4 separate regions of the Homo sapiens genome follow, and all the other regions are linked to region 2. Evidence: promoter capture Hi-C in 16 types of primary human blood cells and fetal thymus (Javierre and others, 2016). All regions are on one chromosome and are shown on one strand. The core of a region is centred on a gene start or on the middle of the fragment in contact, and the rest is flanking DNA. Distances in the headings are between cores, read along the strand shown. Region 1 has its middle 19 kb from the start of OR2K2. Region 2 holds the start of MUSK (muscle associated receptor tyrosine kinase). Region 3 holds the start of OR2K2 (olfactory receptor family 2 subfamily K member 2). Region 4 has its middle 20 kb from the start of MIR7702.

The links. Contacts are between HindIII fragments. The CHiCAGO score rates a contact against its expected background, and 5 or more counts as called.
Region 1: a fragment that was not itself captured here is called in contact with the fragment with the promoter of MUSK in region 2 in 7 of 17 cell types (M2 macrophages, M1 macrophages, monocytes and 4 more); the score reaches 10.0 in M2 macrophages.
Region 3: a contact is called between a fragment that was not itself captured here and the fragment with the promoter of MUSK in region 2, in 1 of 17 cell types (M1 macrophages). The highest score is 7.4, in M1 macrophages.
Region 4: a fragment that was not itself captured here is called in contact with the fragment with the promoter of MUSK in region 2 in 5 of 17 cell types (M1 macrophages, endothelial precursors, erythroblasts and 2 more); the score reaches 6.7 in M1 macrophages.

What each region holds. Positions count from the first base shown.
Region 1 is chr9:111,308,888-111,313,051 of GRCh38, reverse strand. No RefSeq gene overlaps it. Among named protein-coding and RNA genes, the nearest start is that of OR2K2, 19 kb to the left of the region's middle. The HindIII fragment of the contact is 4,775 bases long and covers 262-4,164 here.
Region 2 is chr9:110,666,476-110,670,164 of GRCh38, reverse strand. It overlaps MUSK (muscle associated receptor tyrosine kinase), which reads right to left and starts at 1,374. Exons shown (of 15, transcript NM_005592.4): 1 at 1,182-1,374. The coding sequence starts at 1,260. The HindIII fragment of the contact is 6,269 bases long and covers 1-3,526 here.
Region 3 is chr9:111,330,027-111,333,886 of GRCh38, reverse strand. OR2K2 (olfactory receptor family 2 subfamily K member 2) reads left to right here and starts at 3,663. Exons shown (of 2, transcript NM_205859.2): 1 at 3,663-3,781. The HindIII fragment of the contact is 4,561 bases long and covers 1-3,851 here.
Region 4 is chr9:111,289,121-111,293,135 of GRCh38, reverse strand. No RefSeq gene overlaps it. Among named protein-coding and RNA genes, the nearest start is that of MIR7702, 20 kb to the right of the region's middle. The HindIII fragment of the contact is 966 bases long and covers 1,972-2,937 here.

The DNA of each region.
Region 1 (4,164 bases), core at 1,400-3,899, 640 kb before region 2:
TTAGGCACATTCATAGAGACAGAAAGCAGGTTAGTGGTTGCAATGGGCTGGGAAGAGTGAGAAGTGGGGATTGCCTGCTCAATGGGGTTTTCTTTTAGGGTGATAAAAATATTCTGGAAATAGACTGTGGTGATGGTTGTACAACACTGTATATGTGGTAAATGCCACTAAATTGTACATGTTAAGGTGTTTAAAACGACTACATGAATTTTACTACAATAAGAAAATAAGAAAATACTATGAACACTAATGTCAAAAGCTTTGAAAAATTAGATGAAATAGACCACATTGTTAGAAAAATATAACTTGTCATAATTTAGTATGAAATAGAATACTTGAGAGTTTATTACCTAGCAATTAAAAATTTTTCTCACTAAAAAAATTGTAAATTTTACCAGAAATTTAGGGAATAAGTAACTCTAATCTTAGAAAAAACAATTCCAGGATATGGAAGAAGTGAGAATGCTTCCAAACTCATTTTGTGATGCTATCAAAATCTTGATACCAAAATATATGGAAGAGTATATAAAAAATGAAAATCATAGGCCACTTTTATTCAAGAACATAAATGCAAATGTCAGAGATAACCCATTTACAATAGCTACAAAACCAGAAAATATCTAGGAGCCAATCTAACCAAAGAAGTGAAAGGAATGTAAGGAAAATGATAAAACTCTGGTGAAAGAAATTGAAGAGGACACACAAAAAAGGAAAGATATTCCAAGCCCATGGATTGGAAGAATTAATATTGTTAAAATGACAATACTATCCAAAGCAACTTCCAGATTCAACGCAATCCCTATCAAAATACGAATGACATTCTTCACGGAAAAAAAAGTCCTAAAATTTATGTGGAACCACAAAAGACCCCGAGTAGCCTAAGCAATCCTGAGCAAAAAGAACATGGCTGGAGGTATCACACTACCTGATTTCAAAATTTACTACAAAGCTATAGTAACCAAAATAGCATGAAAACAGACATATAGACCAATGGAACAGAACTGAGAACCCAGAAACAAACACACATTTACAATTCACTTATTCTTGACAAAGGGGCCAAGAACATCCAATGGGAAAGGATAGTCTCTTCAATAAATGGGGCTGGGAAAATGGGACATCCATATGCAGACAAATGAAACTAGACTCCTATCTCTCACCATGCACAAAAATGAAACAAAAATGGATTAAAGATGTAAATCTAAGACCTAAAACTGTGAAACTACTAGAAGAAAACATTGGGGAAATGCTCCAGGACATTTGGGCAAATTTTTTATGTGTAAGACCTCAAAACCATAGGCAACCAAAGCAAAAATAGACAAATTAGCTTGATTACATCGAGTTAAAAAGCTCTGCACAGCAAAAGAAACAATCAGCAAAGTGAAGAGACAACCCACAGAATGGGAGAAAATATTTACAAACTACCCATCTGACAAGGGATCAATAGCCAGAATATATAAGGAGCTCCAAAAACTCAATAGCAAAAAACCAAGTAATCTGATTAACAAAAAGCCCAAGGAACTGAACAGACATTTCTCAGAAGAAGATGTAGAAATGTCCAACAGGTGTATGAAAAGATACTCAACATTACTAATCATCAGAGAAATGCAAATCAAAACCACAATGTGATAAACATGCAGATAAAATGGTTTATATACAAAAGGCAGACAATAACAGATGCTGGTGAGAATATGGAGAGAGGAGAACCCTCATACACTGTTGGTGGGAATGTCAATGAGTACAGCCACTATGGAGAACAGTATAGAGGTTCCTCAAAAAACCACAAATAGAATTATCCTATGATCCAGCAATCCCACTGCTGGGTATATACCCACAAGAAAGGAAATCAGTATGTCAAAGAGATATCTGCACTCCCATGTTTATTGCAGCACTAATCACAATAGCCAAGCTATGGAATCAATCTAAGTGTCCATCAGTGGATGAATGATAAAGAAAATGTGGTACCTATATTCAATGGAATATTATTCAGCCATAAAAATGAATGAAATCCTATGATTTGCAACAATATGGATGGAATTGGAGGCCATATGTTAAGTGATATAATCCAAGCATGGAAAGACAAATATCGCATGTTCTCAGTATTTCGTGAAGATAGAGAATAGACTGGTGGTTACTAGAGGCTGAGAGGGGGAGGAGGGAGGGAGGGATGAAGGGAAAGAAAAAGAATATACTTGTATTTATTTACTATTACCACAGAACTGTACACTTGAAAATGGTAAAAGTGAAAACTTATATATGTATATTTTACCTCAACAAAAAAAGTTTTAAAATCAGAATTAAACAAGTAACGAAATCCAATCATGTATAAAAAAAGGTAATACATGGAAAACTTGTATTACATGCAAGACATACCCCAGATATGCAGTTTTTGTTTTTTTGTTTTGTTTTGTTTTTGAGACAGGGTCTCACTCTGGTGGTCAGGCTGGAGTGCAGTGGTGCAATCTCGGCTCACTGCAGCCTTGACCCCTCGGGCTCAAGAGATCCACCTCTGCCTTCCGAGTAGCTGGGACTACTTGTGCGTGCCACCATTCCCAGTTGATTTTTGTATTTTTTGTAGAGACATGGTTCACAATGTTTCCCAGGCTAGTCTTGAACTCCTGGGCTCAAGTGATCCACCTGCCTTGGCCTCCCAAAATGCTGGGATTACAGGTGTGTGCCACTGCACCCAGTCCTGCAAAGTTGTTTTAATAAAAACATCAACTACCACATTAGTAGATTAAAGGGGGAGAGTTATGTTGGCACCTCAACAGATGAAAAAAATCCCATTTGATAAAATTAACATCCTTTCATGATTTTACAAAACTGCCAGCAAACTTAAAATAGATACGAACTTCCTTAACTTGGACAAAATTTATTGTGAATTTTGAAAGCATTTTGTTTTCAGTTTTGCACAATTTGTTAGCTCATAATTTAATTGTTTAATTGAGATAATATTTGTACATTTTTATGGGGTACATGTGATATTTTGTTACATGCATAGGCTGTGTAATGACCAAGTCAGGGTATTTAGGATACACATTGCCTCGAGCATTTATCATTGCTATGTGTTGGGAACATTTTTTTAAGATGGAGTTTTGCTCTTGTTGCCCAGGCTGGAGTGCAATGGCGCGATCTCGGCTCACCGCAACCTCCGCCTCTTGTGTCCAAGCGATTCTCCTGCCTCAGCCTCCTGAGTAGCTGGGATTACACACACGTGCCACCACGCCCTGCTAATTTTGTGTTTTTAGTAGAGATGTTGTTTCTCCATGTTGGTCAGGCTGGTCTTGAACTCCTGACCTCAGGTGATCCACCTGCCTCGGCCTCCCAAAGTGCTGGGATTACAGGTGTGAGCCACTGCCATTTCAAGGCCTCTCTTTTAGCTATTTTGAAATATACGATACATTGTTAACTGTGGTCACCGTACTCTGCTATCCAACAGCAGAACTTATTCCTCCCATCTGTTCCTGTATGTTTGTACCCATTAACCAACCTGTCTCATTCCCCCGACTCCCCCACTTCCAAGCCTCCGGTAACTATTATTCTACTGTCTACCCTCATGAGATTAACTTTTTTAGCTCCTACATATGGGTGAGAACATGCAATATTTGTCTGTAATTTTTGTTTCTCAGGCTGGATTTATTGGGTTTGGATATAAAAGAATGCTAGCACCATAAAATGAGTTCGCAAGTGTTTCCTTTTCTCTATTCTCTGAAAGAGTATGTATAAAAATTGGAATTATATTTCCTTAAGTATTTGGTAGAACTCACTGGAGTTTTTCTTTTTCTTCTTTTTCTTTATGGACCATGGGTGAATAGAATTGTAGTAATTATAGTCCTTGGTTCATTAAACAATTTCATCATTCAAGTCTCATTGTTTATTTTGAATAATAGCATGAACAGTCATGAGCTCATTCATTTGCATATAAATTAGAATATTGACAAAATAACTTGTGTCTACCTATAGGCTGATTCCCAGCCTGTTCCTTGACCTCCCTATTAAGGTAAACACTGTCGTGAATTTTGTGTTTATCATTCTTTTGCCTTATTTTTATGTGGTTTTGTCATATATAACGAGGTGTATTTAGGGTCTTCTTTGTCACTGTGTGCCACATTCTCTCTTAAAGGTGTTTGCTTTTTCACACTATATTATATTCTAAGAGGCATCTTT
Region 2 (3,689 bases), core at 125-2,624:
TGAAGATACCATTATACTCAAGTAAAATGGAAAAAGAGAAGCAACAAAATGAAACAAAAAAATCTGTGAAATCAGATTGTTTGTGAAGAAACCCGCATCTTATTTGCATGTGAACTTTGACCTTATGGCTCCAGAATTTTTAGTGAACCAGAAAATCTAAAGATACATTTTGCATCTATATACAGATACCACCTTCATTTATCTACACAATACAAACTGTTTCAGTGCTTTGATTAATATAAAGGGAAAATGATTAATTTGAACATGTCCTGAAGCAAAAATCTCTTTTTACTCTATGGTATAACATTAAATTTGAAAACTCTTGTATTGATACCACTCGATCTGCTTTCTCATGTCTTTTTAAAAAAAGATTTCAGTGATACCCTTAGTCACTTTGCAAATCACAGACTTTCCAGTCTTTCTGATTTCAAATACGCTAGTCCCAGTTTCATAATACACTGGCCAGAAACTATATCACTGGACATTCTTGCTACTGCAACAGGTGTTTGTCAGTTTCTTAAGTTGCTTTCCTTTCCCCTGAGGTGGTGTTATTTCCGGTACATTCCAAAGGCTCTGAAAAAAACTTTTGCAGTCTCTTGCCAAGCCAAATCATGACTCCAGCCTCAAAGTTATTTAAAATCCATTGTCTTCCGGGTTTGTTACACAGGCAAATTGTGTACGTCTTTCTGTATTTCCAATTTTTAGCAACTAAAATATTTATTAAGAGTTTGGCAAAGCTAAAACTGAAAATAAAAGTGATTTTTATTCAGAAGCAAATGCTCTGGATGTCTGAGAATGGGGTTGATTCTATTCCTGGCAAACCTGATGCGAAAAGGTTGTCATCATCCACTTAGACCACCCTGAAATTTGACATTCGCATAAACAAAATAGACCTTGATAACTTGCAGTGTACATGCTTATGTTTTGCCCTAGAAGTCAGAGCTCTGCATGCACTATGTGGCTAAGCCTTTTATTGCAGAACTTCGGAGTAAAATATTGGTAGAGAGACCATCAACCAATTGCTTATGTATATAATTTCCTCCCTCATCATACATTTCACCCTTACTTCTTCAAGTAAAACCCAAGCCCACCATACTATAAATCAGTCTTGGTCATATCTCATATACACACACTTTACAACCATGACAAGACAACAAGAAGACACGATTGCTCAAACCAACCTTTTGGAAGTTTCTCAGTTCCGCTGAAGGCAACCAGAGTAAGAATATGTACCAGTGGAATGTTGACGAGCTCTCTCATGATTAATCCAGGCTCACGCAGGACGAAGTTCCTTCTGGACAACGCAAGGAAAATGGCTCCACAGTTTACATTTTAAAGCATACTTTGTTGCAAAAGGGTTGTCTGCTAATGACTGTTTGTGTCAGCAGCTCCACAGGCTCTAAGTATAATCAGGAATTCTCAGACTTGGCTGCAATGATGGACACAGCCAGCTGGTGAGCATCCACGTAGGCCAGTAATGCAAGTGTAGGGCTGGAGGAACAAGGGCAAGAAAATCCCTTTAGAATCCCTTTTAAGACAGTGGCAGAAGGACAATACCAGATGCCTTTTGCAACCATCGCTGTATTCCCAGAGGTATAGGTGTCCTGACCTTCGAATTCAGCACCCCACCTCTCCCGGACTCAAACCAGAAATCTGGGTCTATTCAGTCTTCAGTCCTCCCCATCTCTCACCCCACCCCCACTCCCACATTCAGCCCATTCCAATTCCTACAGATTTTATCAACCAAATAGTCCTTGTACCTTCTCTCTGTCTTGGGTCTTAACCATTCTATATCTTTTTTCAGATAGTCCCTCCTGCTCAAAAGCCTTTAGGGGCTCATCATCACATAAAAATATATTTAAACCTGCCTAATCTGCCTAATATGACAGGCTTTACTGGAATCTGCATGCTTTGTTGTATGTTAGTATTGTCTTTTACGATCCTGTTTTTGTTTTTTGTTTTTTTTTTTTTTCAGAGTCAGGGTCTTGCTCTGTTGCCCAGGCTGGAGTGCAATGGGGTAATCATAGCTCACTGCAACCTCAGCCTCCTGGACTCAAGTGATCCTTTCAGAGTAGCTAGGACTACAGGCACTGCCACTACAGCAGGCTAATTTATTTTTATTTTTTGGAGAGATGTGGTCAGGCTATGTTACCCAGGCTGGTCTCAAACTGCTGGCCTCAAATGATGATTCCACCTCGGCCTCTCAAAGTGCTGGGAATGCAGGCGTGAGCTACTGTGCCCAGCCTCATTCAGCTTCCTTTATTCAACAACCTGCTGATGGTTCCCTGTATACAGCTTTCCTACCTCCATGAATTGCTCATACTGTTTGCTTCTCTTGGAATACTACTCCCCTCCTTTCCACTCAGTTCACACATCTCTCAGCTTGATCATCCTCTCCTCCTGGGAGAAAAATTCCATATCTTCCCAAAGCTGTGTTACGTTTGTCTTCTCTGGGTTTCCATAATATACTGTGCATATCTCTACCATTGCAATGACCATATTGTTTTGATTTTTTCCCCTTTGTGTTGGTGTCTTCTTCATTCTTTGGCCTCGTGAGTTCATTTATAGAACTTTAGAGTCAGGTAGTGTGATGCCGCCAGCTTTGTTCTTTTTGCTTAGGATTGCCTTGGCTATATGGGCTCTTTTTTGGTTCCATATGAAATTTAAAGTAGTTTTTTCTAATTCTGTGAAGAAAGTCAATGGTAGCTTGATGGGGATAGCATTGAATCTATAAATTACCTTGGGCAGTACAGCCATTTTCACAATATTGATTCTTCCTATCATGAGCATGGAATGTTTTTCCATTTATTTGTGTCCTCTTTTATTCCCTTGAGCAGTGGTTTGTAGTTCTCCTTGAAGAGGTCCTTCATATCCCTTGTAAGTTGGATTCCTAGGTATTTTATTCTCTTTGTAGCAATTGTGAATGGGAGTTCACTCATGATTTGGCTCTCTGTTTGTCTGTTATTGGTATATAGGAATCTTGTGATCTTTGCACATTGATTTTGTATCCTGGGACTTTGCTGAAGTTGCTTATCAGCTTAAGGAGATTTGGGGCTGAGATGATGGGGTTTTCTAAATATACAATCATGTCATCTGCAAACAGAGACAATTTGACTTTCTCTCTTCCTATTTGAATACGCTTTATTTCTTTCTCTTGCCTGATTGCCCTGGCCAGAACTTCCAATAGTAGGTTGAATACGAGTGGTGAGAGAGGGCATCCTTGTCTCGTGCCAGTTTTCAAAGGGAATACTTCCAGCTTTTTCTCATTCAGTGTGACATTGGCTGTGGGTTTGTCATAAATAGCTCATTTTTTTTCGATGGGTTCCATCAATACCTAGTTTATTGAGAGTTTTTAGCATAAAGGGGTGTTAAATTTTATTGAAAGCCTTTTCTGCATCTATTGAGATAATCATGTGGTTTTTGTCACTGGTTCTGTTTATGTGATGGATTACATTTATTGATTTGCATATGTTTAACCAGCCTTGCATCCCAGGGATGAAGCCAACTTGATCGTGGTGGGTAAGCTTTTTGATGTGCTGTTGGATTCAGTTTGCCAGTATTTTATTGAGAATTTTCACATCAATATTCATCAGGGATATTGGCCTGAAATTTTCTGTTTTTGGTTGTGCCTCTGCCAGGTTTTGGTATCAGGATGATGCTGGACTCATAAAATTAGTTAGAGAGGATTC
Region 3 (3,860 bases), core at 322-2,821, 660 kb before region 2:
TTTCCTTATATAGATTATACACATATTTTGTTAGATTCATGCTCAAGTATATCATTGTGGGGGAGGGATCCTAGTGTAAACAATGTTGTGTTTTTAATTGCAAATTCCATTTCTTCTTTGCTGGTATACAGGAGAGCAAGTGACTTTTGTACATTAACCCTGTGTCCTGAAACCTTATTGGGAATTGCTTATTCTTAGTTCCAGCAGGTTTTTGTTGATTCTTTCAGATTTTCTACATAGACGGTCATCTCATTGTCAATTTTCTTATAAAATTCTTGTTGTCTTGTTGCCTGGTGGTGGGAGGGATTTGTCGTGAGTGCTGACTTTTAGAAAAATAAAGTTTCAAGATTAATATTATTAAAACTTCAAGTCATTAGTTATCATGTTTCCTATGTTTTACAATCAAACAAGCCTATTGGATTTAGCCAGTTTCACTATTCCAAGCTCATGCTGTATGGGCCACTCTAGCCCATTATCCCCAAAATATAATCCTACCATTTAATTAGCTCTATTTTATATTTTATATTATTCAATATAGTTGTTGTTTCTTCTTTTCCTAAGAAGGAAACAATTTGCCTATTCATGTGGTAGGACCAAGTTCTTCTGAGGGTCTTCTTTCTGGACGTTTGCCATCAGTGATCCAGAGTAAATGAACTGTCATAAGGACACAGAAAATATGGAGAAGGCATTACTTGCAAAAAGTATGTGGCAATAAGTGCATTTTCTCTCCACACACAACTTTTAAAAAAATATTTTTACCAATGATTTGAGGGTAAGTTGGAGACATTTTGCCCTTTTAACACTAAATGCTTCAGTGTGTATTTCCTAAGAATAAGAGCATTATCTTACATAACCATAGTACAGTGATCAAGATCAGGAAATATGATATTGATAGAATGCTAATATCTAATCCCCAGCCCATTTTCAAATGTTGTCAATTGTCCTAATAATGTCCTTTACAGACCATTTTTCCTAATCTAAGATTCATGCTGGGGCATGTATCATATTTAGTTGTCCTGTCTCTTTCAGGTATGGAACATTTTCTTGGTTTTTCTTTTTGTTTCCTGATTGTGACACTTTTTTTTTTTAATTAGGAGTTTTTTATTTTATGATTTCTTCTTTTTTATTTCAGTAGGTCTTGGGGGAACTGGTAGTGTTTGGCTACATGGGTAAGTTCTTTAGTGGTGATTCCTGAGATTTTGGTACACCCACCAGTGTACATTATCCCCAATACGTTGTCTTTTGTTCCCCAGCCTCGCATCCTTTCCCCTGAGTCCCCAGAGTCCATTGTGTCATTCTTATGCCTTTGCATCCTCATAGCTTAGCTCCCACTTATGAGTGAGAGAGCGAGAACATAGCATGTTTGATTTTCCATTCCTGAGTTACTTCACTTAGAATAATGATCTCCAATTCCATCTAGGTTGCTGCAAATGCCTTTATTTTGTTTCTTTTTGTGGCTGAGTAGTATTCCATGGTGTGTGTGTGTATGTATATCTATCTATCTCACATTTTCTTTATCTGCTCATTGATTGTTGGGCATTTGGGCTGATTCCATATTTTTGCAATTGCGAATTGTGCTGCTATAAACATGTGTGCAAGTATCTTTTTTGTATGATGACTTCTTTTCCTCTGGGTAGATACTCAGGAGTGGGATTGCTGGATTAAATGGTAGATCTACTTTTAGTTCTTTAAGGAGTCTTCACACTGTTTTCCATAGTGGTTGTACTAGTTTACCTTCCTACCAGCAGTGTAAAAGTGTTCCCCTTTCATCCCATCCATGCCGACATCTATTATTTTTTGATTAAGGCCCTTCTTGCAGGAGTAAGGTGGTACTGCACTGTGGGTTTGATTTGCATTTCCCTGATAATTAGTGATGTTGAACATTTTTTCATATGTTTTGTGGCCATTTGTATATCCTTTTTTGAGAATTGTCTGTACTTTTGGAAAGCATAGGCTGATTATGTTGCATAATATCCCTAAATTTAGGTTTGTCTGGTTTACACTCATGGTTAGATTCTGGTGATTTAATTTTGATGGGAATACCTCAGAAGTGATAGTGTGTTCTCAGTACCTCATATTAGAAGGCACATGGAGTCTATTTGTCCCAATATTGGTGATTTTAACATGATTATCCTTCAGGCCTCCCCACCATAAAGTTATTATTTTATCTTTAAACTTACTAAGTAATTTGTGGTGAGATATTTTGACACCATGTAAATATACTGTTCATCCAACTTTTACCTTCAAAAACGACACTGCCTACATTAACCTAATACAACATTTTACCTGTGGTAATCTATTGCCTACAAAACCCTTAACTGTGATTGATTATTTTCTAACATCATTCCTCTAAATTTATATTTTTTGGCATCCTACTGTGAAGAAGAGCTTTCTATTCCTATTTATTTATATAATAACGTACATTTTTATATTATTCTATGAATTATGATCAATTATTATCATTTTTATTTTGATGCTCCAAATAATCTGTCCTAAATTTAGCAATGGGAGCTTCATCAAGTGGGCGTCTATGACCCTTTGCTATATTCCTACCATTCTTTGCATATTTCTTACTTTCTGGTATGGTAAGATACTCTAAGTTAATCTTGTTCTTTCTTATCCTAGCTCTGGTATTAGTCATTTTCCCAAGGAGCCATGTTTCCTTCTAGTTAAGAATGGTGTTTAGAAACTAATATCTGGGGCCGGGGGTGGTGGCTTACGCCTGTAATCCCAGCACTTTGGGAGGCTGAGGTGAGTGGATTGCTTGAGCTCAGGAGTTCGAGACCAGTCTGGCCAACATGGTGAAACCCTGTCTCTACCAAAAATACAAAAATTAGCCCAGCGTGGTGGCACATGCCTGTAGTCCCAGCTACTCAGGAGGCTGAGGCAGGAGAATCCCTTGAACCTGGGAGGTGGTGGTTGCAGTGAGCTGAGATCGTGCTACTGCACTCCAGCCTGGGCGACAGAGCCAGACTCTGTCTTAAAAACAAAACAAAACAAAGCAAAGATCTAGGATGTGCCCATTACTACCGAGGTCTCATTGCCTTACAATCCTCTCAATATGTGTATATTAAATAACATTTCTGATCACTTGTTGGGGCAGTCAGTGATTTCTCTGTGGCTTTAAAAAGTAAATGTTCTTTCCCTAATTTCTGAAAACCAGGGAGTAATTTCACAAATGCACAAAATGTATTTTAGTATTGTAGGGACATCTTTTCTCTGTATTCTGTTAAGTATTCTACGCTGAAATCATTCATTAAAAAGTCTTGACATAGCTAAAGATTGACAAGAAGAAAGTGAATAGAAAACTTTGTTTTCTGAGTTTTTCCAAAGTATTTTGGAGGAACTGTGTGGTTCACTCTCTATTTAACTTTTTAAAAGTTTGATATAATTGGATCTTTGGGACAATATCCCTGAAGGATCTGAAATTTCAAACCTCTATATATCTTAGCTCCTGAACTTTAAATTGTTCAGGGACAACAGATATTCCCCCAAAACAATAAATGATTTAAATTTACCTAATATTTCAGTTGCTATCCTTTGGTATTTTTAGTTATGGTGGTAAGAGTTAATAATTTCAAAAGAAATGAATCGCACTATTGATTTGTACATAATATTTAACATTTTAAAATATGAATTAATTTATTATTTCTTGGACGTAGTTAACTTTATGAAGTGCATCATAAAACAACGTTTTATTTGAAGTTGCTGATACGGAATTCAGATGGGAGGACCAATTCTTCTTGGCTACTATTAAATACTTTTGAATATCAAATCTCAGGTAACTGGGCTGATTTTTTCACTTAAAAACTTGTGCTTGTTAGTCTTAAGAGTAGCACAAAAATTAAGCTTCTTTGAAG
Region 4 (4,015 bases), core at 1,205-3,704, 620 kb before region 2:
AGTGTATCTTTTAACACGGTGCTGACCAATACAGTGATCACTAGTCATGTGAATATTGAGCGCTTGAGTTATTACTAGTCTGAATTGAGATTTGCTGTAAGTATAAAGTACGCACTGGGTTTCAAAGGAAGTACCAAACCCAAAATATCTCACTAATGATTCTTATATCGATTACATTTTGAAATGATAATATTTTGGATATATTGGATTAAACAGACTTATTAAAATTAATTTTACCTTTTTTTTGCTTTAAAAATGTGGATACTAGAACATTCAATTTACATATTGCTCATGTTATATTTCTATTGGACAATTCTGTTTTAGAATTTTCTTTAATGATGGCAAATTATGAAGTTTTGTTTTGTCTGAAAATGTCTATTTTGTACTTGCTCTTGAAATGTTTTTCCACTGGATCTACTGTGCTAGGTTGAGTTATTTCCTCTTATCATATTGAGAATATTATTTTACTGCCTGGCTTCCATTTTTGCTGTTAAGATGTCAGTTAATGTTGTTACTCCTTTGGCATTAATTTTTCTTTCCACTCTAGTTCCTGTTTGAAAAATCTCCTGGTTTGTAATATCCTGATATTTTATTATGATGAATTTAGCTATGTGTTTATTATTATGTATCCTGCTTGGATTCGCTATTGATTTCTTCTATAAATTCTAGGAAATTACTCATCATTATCTCTTTAGGTATTACCTCTTCTCCATTCTATTTCTCCCTTTTTATGAAACTCCATTTACATGTATATTACACTTTATCTTCTATATCTTAACCTCCTTTTTATTGTTTTCCATCTTTTTGTCTCTCTAAGGAGCATACTAAATTAATTCTGTATAACTAACTTTTTGCTAATACTTTTATCTGTGTCTAATCGTCTGGTTCAACTGCTTCATGGAATTTGTTTCATTTCAATGATTTTATTTTATATTTTGATACTGGGAGCACAGTTTGGTTCTTTTTCAAATCTGCTTACTCTTATAATCCCTTGCTCTTTAATCATATTTAAAACATTTCATTTCTTTGAATATATTTTAAATCAACATATTTAAAAAATATTCTATTACCAATAATTCCAATATCTGAACTCTTTGCAAGACTGATTTTGTTGTCTGTTATTATTGCAGGCTTTCTCAGATGGTAGCTTCTTTCCTTGTGTATTTTGTAATTTTTGACTGTAAGCTGCTCATGGTCCTTGGAATATCTTTGGTAGGAATTCTTTGAGGCTTTTGTTGAGGGTTGGTTCATTGAAAAAATATTTACATTTGCTTCTTCCATGAGACTAGGGACACTGAAAACCCAGGGGGATAACTTTAAATTAAGTTCTCAGGTTTGTTGGATCATCTAGATAGAGAAAATTTGAGGCTCCTGAGGGGGTTAGCTTTGGAATGAATTTGCATACCTTCTTTACCCCATCCAAGGTTTCAAACAGGCAATTTTCTCTATTATGCCCTTGGTGTGTGAGGTGTTTGATTCTATTCATCTTACACTGATGTACAAGTAGTTCTTTGGGAACCCACTTGTTATTTGGCCAGTTTTCCATGAGACTGTGCATCACAGGTGAGCTTCGTCTTCTGTCCTCTGCAACCCATGAGCCTGTGAAAACAGAAGCCTAAGGTCACTTGGATTCAGAAAATGCCTCAAAACAAAGCCAGGTTTAGTTCTCCACTTATTCCTCTAGGTATTTTTTTGTTCTCTTCAGTTTTTATTGTCCAAAGGTTGTCTATTTTCTTATCAGCTTATTGAGTATTTAAAAAGACAATGACTATGGTAAAAGAGAAATATTTTATAATGAAGCATCCCCATACTGAATATATAGCAACTAAGAAATATATAAAATAGGCAAATAAATGTATACAATAAAACCTTTTGCAAAAGAACAATGTCAGAGGCAATTATAGTGGAAGCCGTAATACAGTATTCTCAATCTCTGACAGGCTAAGTAGACAAAAATAAGGACATGAAGCTTTAAATAATTTAAATTCCAGCCCTGCATTAACAGATATATAGCATTTGTTCTCCACAGGTAATGTACTTTCTTTCTTAAATTTTATTTTTAATTGAAAAATAATAATCATATATATTGTATATTTATGGGATACAGGATGTGTTTTGATCCATATTTACACTATGGAATGATTAAATCAAGCTAATTAACAAATAAAAAAAGTTTAAAAACTATATATATATTTAAGGCCGGGCATGGTGGCTCATGCCTAGCACTTTAGGAGGCCAAGGCAGGTGGATCACTTGAGTTCAGGAGTTCAAGACCATCCTGGGTACCATGGCGAAAGCGCATCTCTACAAAAAATGCAAAAATTAGCTGGGTGTGGTGGTGCATACCTGGTCCCAGCTATTCCAGAGGCTGAGATGGGAAGATAACTTGAGCCTGGCAGACCGAGGTTGTAGGGAGCCATGATCGCGTCACACTGCAGTCCAGCCTGGGCAACAGAGTGCGATCTCATCTCAAGAAAAAGAGTTATTAAAAATATATATTTAATCTAGCATTTTTTAGTCATTTTCACCAGGAGGGTCAATCATGGTCTTTAGTCCATTATGATACCATAAATGGCAGTCTTATGTTTGCTTTGAGTGAAATTTTAAAATTTTATTTGCAACAGGTTTTGTAGTTATTTTCTGTGTATATTGTTATGTTATCTTGTCTGTACTGACACTAGTGCTTTTATATTTTGACTTTTGACTTCTTGAATCCTCTTTCAACTACTTTAGCTTTAGAATGTAATTGAAGACATTTCTGTCAAAGGTGCATTTGTGGAATTCTTGCTGTATCTTTGCATGAGAAGTTTTTTCTGTTGCTTTTGTTTGTGAAAGAAAGTTGACAAAGTTCAGAATTTTAGTTCACTATGTTTTTCCCCTCAAAATCTGGCAGACACACCTCCATTTTCTTCTTGAATTTACACATGTGATGAAGCTTGAATTTTTTCCATTTCTAGATAAACTTTTCTTCTTCTTATACTCTATAGTATTTTTCTTTATCCACATCATTAAAATAGTTTGCCTTTTGTGTTGGAATGGGTTCTAGTTCAATAATTTTTCCCGGAACATCCTGAACCCTGTTTTTGAATAGACTCAGGATTTCTATTTTTTTAATTCCAGAAAATTTTTTTTCTTTCTTTTATGTTTTTTGTTCATTTTGTTTTTGGGTCCTAATATTTCTGACTTCCCTGTTTTTGAAAAATATCATTTTTCCTGTCAGTATTTAATTTTTGTTGTTATTTTCTCTCTGTGCAGTGATAGATTCTCAAGTTTGTCTTCAATATTATTGTTCCAGTTTTATTCAATGTCACTTCTGCTCATTACCTTCTTCAATGGAGATTTTAATTTTATTATAATATATTAGATTTTTTGTACTTGTTTTTCTCATTTCAGCTAGTTCCTTCTGCATCTCTTTCTTCATTTAACTATATTCCCCATTAAAACTTGGAGTTTTTGTTTTACAAAGGTCATGTCTTCTTATAACTCTGGGAACACTAGGAAACTGTACCATAATTTTCTTCTGATTCTTCTGGAAGTCATCTCATTATTTTTTAGAGTCTACTTTTCTCCTGAGTTTTCATGCCTTATATTTGGCTTCCTTCTTTATTGCAGTATCTTTTCATTGATTCTATATAGATTTATTTGTTGTTCATTTCATTGTGAATATTTAGATCTCTCCAGGCATGGCATGGTCTACAAATCAGGGTAGAAGTTTATCTATCTATCTATTATCTATCTATCTATCATCTATCTATCTATCTGCACACATATAGTATTTAAATAATTCAGATTCTGTTAGCACAAGTGTTATTAAAATGTGCTCTACAGGTACCTAGATTTCTGGAAAGGTCCTTCTGGGCAGCCTCGGGGGACAAGAATGAGCACAAGCCTACCCATCCGAGTTCTCTTATCCTGAAAACTGAGGCACTCCACACTTACCTGTTTTATATATCAAGCCTCTGCATTAAAATTTATTTGAAGAAAGGAGAAAGCTGTTTAAGACATTTCTGAAAAC